2 separate regions of the Homo sapiens genome follow, and region 2 is linked to region 1. The links are contacts of gene promoters, found by promoter capture Hi-C in blood cells and fetal thymus (Javierre and others, 2016). All regions are on one chromosome and are shown on one strand. The core of a region is centred on a gene start or on the middle of the fragment in contact, and the rest is flanking DNA. Distances in the headings are between cores, read along the strand shown. Region 1 holds the start of LY6D (lymphocyte antigen 6 family member D). Region 2 overlaps LOC105375794 (a long non-coding RNA gene).

Region 1 (3,043 bases), core at 161-2,660:
GCCTCAGCCCAGCCCAGGACCACCCTCCTCGGAACCGGCCCTGCCCTGCCCTGGGCCTGTTGTTGTCTGTTCATCAGCCACGTGGCAGCGGCGGCAGGAGGCTGGGCCCAGGGCTGACCTCCATCTGTGCCCCGGCTCCCACTCACCTTCAGCCTAGCCAGGGCAGGGGCAAAGCAAGTCTGTGGGCCCCTCCACACCACTCAGGTGGGTGCTGCCCAGCACAGGCGAGCGGCAGAGCGTGCTGGGCTGAGCAGGTGGATGGGGGCCCCAAGAGGTGGGCTCCTGCGCGAGGCGGTGGGTGCTCAGAGACCCCGTCTCCAGGGAAAGAAAGTCCCTCCTGTGAGTATAAAGAGGGTGAAGGCGGGGACTGGCCTCCACTCAACGGGCAGCAGACCAAGAACCTGCTTTGAGGCCCTGGGTGCTGGGGCCCAGCCCCAAAGAGTTCACGATTTTGGGGAGACTGGAGCCGGGACACCTAGAGCAATAGTTACAAAGTGGCCGGGATGGCGCTGCCCCCAACGTAGCAGGAGGGGCCTGGAGAGTGGGGGAAGGAATCCCACGGGGAGGGCTTCTGGGGCCCTGGAGGGCGGGAGGCAGGGCTGGTGGAGACCAGGAGGGCTCAGTCTCTCCCTGCACAACGCAGGGTGGAGTTGCTGCCTCCACAGCCCGGGCCTTCTGCCCACAGGGCTCCCCAGGCAACTTCGAGGGCCGGGTCCTCACAGTCCTCACTCTGTCCAGTGCTCACCTCACTGCTGCCCCAGCTGCCCTCCCTGCCTCGGAGTGGCCTCTGCCTCTGCCTCTGCCTCACACACCCCATCAGCCCACAGCCACCCCGAGCCCTTGCAGCTCAAGGACCTTCTGCATCCCCGGCAGCAACCCTGAGCCCAGAGCCAGGAGAGTAGGACCAGCACCTGCCCTTCCTACCTCCCCTGCCCTGGACACCCACGGGCACCCACAGGGCACCGGGCACAGGCTGCAACTCTATTGAGGGAACTATGGGGGGAATGCAGGGACAAAGACACAGGATGGTGATGGATGGTGGGGGGTGGGGGGCGGGGGGTAGCGGGTGGCAGGTCAGAGACAAAGTGACCCAGGAACGGACGGCAGCGAGAGAACAAGACCCACAGAGACAGAGAAGTGAAAGTGGGAGAGATGGAGGCACAGCAGCAGGAACAGCAGGGCCAGGAGGCCACTGGGCCCCGTTGCGGAGGGCAGACCTCTGCCTGGCGGGGGGCAGCAGGGGCAGCGCCCAGCGACAGCCAGGCTGGTGGGCGTGGGCCAGGCAGGGTGGGGCAGGTGCCCGTCCTGGGCTGACGCTTGCACAGAGCCCTGCAGAATGCCGCTGGCTGGCGGACTGCCCACCCCCGCCCAGCCCGTGCCTATAAGGCCTTGGCAATGCAGGGGCCCGCACTGCTCCCAGACGACATCAGAGATGAGGACAGCATTGCTGCTCCTTGCAGCCCTGGCTGTGGCTACAGGGCCAGGTGAGGGGCTGGGCCAAGGGGACGGGCGGGTGGGCGGCTGTGGCCTGTGTGGTCACCAAATACTAGGAGCCTGGAGCTGACGACATCTAGGCACAGAGAACCCCGACACTGTGGGTGCTAGACTCTTCAAATTTAAAACAACATGGAGCCCGAATCTTAACGAGTGTCAGATTTACAATGTTTCAGAATCTGAGGATCTTAGAACTGACTCCTGGAGTCACGGACCCTGAGAGAGTGGAGCAGGGGGTTGTCTTGAGATGCTTCTCACTGGGAGAGCGGCCATCTAGTCCCTGCCACCAGCCCCTCCCGGTCCCCAGGTCTCCCCCAGCACAGCCCAGGACAGCCCAAAGGCCACCAAGCCCTTCCTGTCATAGGCTCAGAGCAGCCAAGCTGGCTGCCCCCGGGGCCTTAGCTCCGTCAGGCCCTCAGAAACATAGCCATCTCCTCCAGGGACATCCCCTGGGGTGGGGACAAGAGCCAGTGTCCTCTTGGCAGTCGCAGAGCTCCCTGAGACCTTGGAGGAAAGGCTTGCAACACACCCTAGACAGGGGCAGGGCAGGACACCTCTTCCAAGCCGGCCCAGGCTGGAATACATGTCCCCTGAGGCTGCACTCAGGGCACATGCCCTGCCAGGACCCAGAGCCCGGGTTTGGGGGCCTAGGGCAAGGGCAGCAGGGCCTCTGTCCAGGAGGGGTCTCTGCAGGTGGGGGAGCAGGCCCTGCTGAGTCACCAGGAGGCCTCTGTTGGGCCCGCTGAGCCGGACTCCCTCCCCGCCAGCCCTTACCCTGCGCTGCCACGTGTGCACCAGCTCCAGCAACTGCAAGCATTCTGTGGTCTGCCCGGCCAGCTCTCGCTTCTGCAAGACCACGAACACAGGTGGGTAGCATCTGTCCAGGTGTCCCTGGGGCTGGGGGACATCCCTGGCTGTTGTGGGTGTTGGCTGGAAGGTTGTGGGGAGGTGGGGGGCAGAGGTGGCTGCCTGGCCTGACCACACTCACCTGTGCCCAGTGGAGCCTCTGAGGGGGAATCTGGTGAAGAAGGACTGTGCGGAGTCGTGCACACCCAGCTACACCCTGCAAGGCCAGGTCAGCAGCGGCACCAGCTCCACCCAGTGCTGCCAGGAGGACCTGTGCAATGAGAAGCTGCACAACGCTGCACCCACCCGCACCGCCCTCGCCCACAGTGCCCTCAGCCTGGGGCTGGCCCTGAGCCTCCTGGCCGTCATCTTAGCCCCCAGCCTGTGACCTTCCCCCCAGGGAAGGCCCCTCATGCCTTTCCTTCCCTTTCTCTGGGGATTCCACACCTCTCTTCCCCAGCCGCAACGGGGGTGCCAGGAGCCCCAGGCTGAGGGCTTCCCCGAAAGTCTGGGACCAGGTCCAGGTGGGCATGGAATGCTGATGACTTGGAGCAGGCCCCACAGACCCCACAGAGGATGAAGCCACCCCACAGAGGATGCAGCCCCCAGCTGCATGGAAGGTGGAGGACAGAAGCCCTGTGGATCCCCGGATTTCACACTCCTTCTGTTTTGTTGCCGTTTATTTTTGTACTCAAATCTCTAC
Region 2 (3,043 bases), core at 260-2,759, 140 kb before region 1:
GCACTTTATGAATGCTTGTTTGAAGATTTGGTGGACTGTGCAGAAGAGAATAGATTTCGATGGAATCCCCAAACCATGATGATAGACTGGGAACGAGCTGTGACCAGGCTCCTACAAGTTGCCACACGCACTCCCACTCCCAGGTGATGGCCTGAGTATTTATGATTGCAAAAATATGGAAGTTCTTATTGCCTGTTTTATTGCGTAAAGTGGCTGAGGAAGTGTTCTGCCATGTTTTTATGCGTTTCTCAAACAAGTCCCCCTTAAAAATGTGAATAAATATCTTTAAAATAATTACAATATTTTTCCAGAATTGTATTTTTGAGATTTTGATCTTTTGGGATTTCAACATTTGGGATTATGGCATTTGGAGTTGTGTCTTCTGGGATTATGATAGGCAACCAGTCAGTACAGAAGCCAACACAGCCATCACCTGGGAGTGGGGGTGCATGCGGCAACCGCTTTCATCACCTTGGTGAAAAGATGGCTTGAGTTCTAAGGAGGAAAGGAGGTGAGGGTTAGGATACAAGCAAAGTTAGAAATTGGAATTGAATGGCTGGGCACTGTGGTTCACTCCTGTAATCCCAGCACTTTGGGAGGCTGAGGTGGATGGATTACAAAGTCAGGAGATGGAGACCATCCTGGGTAACATGGTGAAACCCCGTCTCTACTAAAAATACAAAGAAAAAAAAGAAAAGAAAAGAAAAGAAATTAGCCGGGCATGGTGGCACATGTCTGTAGTCCCAGCTATTTGGGAGGCTGAGGCAGGAGAATGGCTTGAACTTGGGAGGCGGAGGCTGCAGTGAGCTGAGATAGTGCCACTGCTCTCCAGCCTGGGCAACAGAGCAAGACTCTGTCTCTAAAAAAAAAAAAGAAAGAAAGAAACGAGTTGAAAGCCCCACATAAAGCCTTAACTTTCAAGACTACAACTTCAGTGAAAATGTGGTCCAGAAATATTCTATCTAACAGCATGGGAGATGAGAAGGAAGCTTGGCTCTTTAACCCTGGGAATGAGGAGTGAGAAATGTCCCCTCCTATGGATCAGGATGGAGGCCCTCAAATTGGTTTAGGATTTAGGTCACCCCACCTTTGATGAACCCCAAGCCGAGCCTTTAATACAAAAAGTGGCCCTGGGCAAGTGACAGTTTCTGGAAAACCAGAAAAGCAAACAGTAAGGCTCAGAAGGGAAAACACAGCTGCAAGCCAGGCCCACCTGCATGAAGACCAGGTCCAGGGTTCCTGATTTCCAGTCTTTTGAAGCCAATAGTATCTCTACATTTAAAGAAGTGAGAAGGCGTAAGGTGTGTGACTAACGAACAATCAAAATGAACTACCAGACTGTCCTGGAGGAATTTTAAAAGAGCTGATGAAACACTAAGAGTCAGAGGCACAGAGAATTCCCAGCAGGGTGAGGGAAAAGGAACTCTTCCACAGACTCCGAAGAGATCTCAATAACAAAGCTCTCCCTGTAGCCTCCAGGGCATCCCACACCCTGGGATGGCAGCGTGACGGCCGGCGTTCCAACGCCAGCTGCGGAAGCCAGAGACAGTGGCCAAGGGGTTGGCGCACACCCACCGCTGCAACAAAACACATGTGCACGATGGCTCCAATGGGAAAGAAGCCCCTCTCACAGACACTCGGAAGTGAGCATTCCTAATCAGGTCACCCTCCTTCCACCCGTCGTTCCGACACGTGGTATCTGAGGCTGCCAGGCCGAGATGGGGTAGGGCCAGGCCAGGGGAGGCACATGTGTCTTCTCCCCCGTTCCACTGGCCAAACTCAGACACAGGGGAGCACAGACTGCAAGGCAGGCTGGGAACGGAGCCCGTTCACCTGCCAGGGAAGAACAGGACGTGTGTGGAAGGGCAGTGAACATCGCCTGCCGCGTCTAACATCTTCAAAATGCTGAAATACAAGCACTGCCTACCTGGAAATGAACACTCAACACAACTATCTTTGAAGATTTAGATTAAAATAAGACATTTTTAGACCTAGAGACCTGAAAGAGATCTCTACCAACAGAAGCTTTTCCAAAGATGTTTTAAAGAATGACCTCCAGAAAGAATGGAATTCACCTAGCCCAAAATCTTCCAGTGTAGAGATGAATCTGAGCAAAGAAAACACGTGACTAAAAGGAGGCAAACGTGAACTCTGATCACAATGATAACATCCAGTTTATGTTGTTAAAAAACCAAAATAGAACTTTAATATTGGCCAATAACAGCATAACCGTCAAAAGAGGGTGACCAGAGTTAAAAAGCTCTAAAGTTTCTATGTTTGTTTATTTTTTTATGGGAAGATACTGAATAGTAATGTTATACTTTAAGTTACAAAATTTACTTTATATATTTATTTATTTTTGAGACAGGGTCTTGCTCTGTCACCCAGCCTGGAGGGTTGTGGCGATCATAGCTCACCGCAGCCTTAAGCTCCTGGGCTCAAGAGATCCTCCTGCCTCAGCCTCCTGAGTAGCTGGGACTACAGGCATGTGCCACCATGCCTGGCTAACAAAATTCACTTTAAAATGTCTAAGGTAACCATGAAAATAATGGAAATGGAGAATATGTCTTCCGAAGTAGGAGAGAAAAAGAGGGAACTTAAAAATGGATAACTTGGGATAAACCAAATGCAGAAAATAAAGTGAACATAATCCACATACATTAGTTATCACAAAAATACTAAGTGGATGGACTTTGAGAGTTAAAAGACAAAGATTGTCAAACTAAATAGAACAACACTAACAACAACACAATATCTCTATAGGATGTTTAAATAAGAAATATCTAAAACACAACTTACAGAAAGGTTGAAAGTCACAGAATGAAAAAAAAAAACCTCCAGGCAAATATTGACCGAAAGGAAACAACTGTGCCTCTGAGGCTGGCACTGGAGATATGTGAGTATTTTCAGTGGATCAGATGAGGGCCCCATGGAGAGAAAGTCAGCCTGGGTTCTTCTTGCAACCTGGTCAATAGGCTGCCCTCAGGGAGAGGGACTGGAGCACAGAAGGAGGAGACGGATGCAGGAGTCATCTGGCTTCTGG

What was found. Contacts are between HindIII fragments. The CHiCAGO score rates a contact against its expected background, and 5 or more counts as called.
Region 2: a fragment that was not itself captured here is called in contact with the fragment with the promoter of LY6D in region 1 in 1 of 17 cell types (naive CD8 T cells); the score reaches 5.6 in naive CD8 T cells.

What each region holds. Positions count from the first base shown.
Region 1 is chr8:142,784,906-142,787,948 of GRCh38, reverse strand. It overlaps LY6D (lymphocyte antigen 6 family member D), which reads left to right and starts at 1,410. Exons shown (of 3, transcript NM_003695.3): 1 at 1,410-1,484; 2 at 2,262-2,360; 3 at 2,493-3,043. The coding sequence starts at 1,433. The coding sequence ends at 2,728. The HindIII fragment of the contact is 15,715 bases long and covers 1-3,043 here.
Region 2 is chr8:142,926,883-142,929,925 of GRCh38, reverse strand. It overlaps LOC105375794 (a long non-coding RNA gene), which reads right to left. Exons shown (of 2, transcript XR_928730.1): 2 at 2,753-3,043. Among named protein-coding and RNA genes, the nearest start is that of CYP11B2, 11 kb to the right of the region's middle. The HindIII fragment of the contact is 1,036 bases long and covers 992-2,027 here.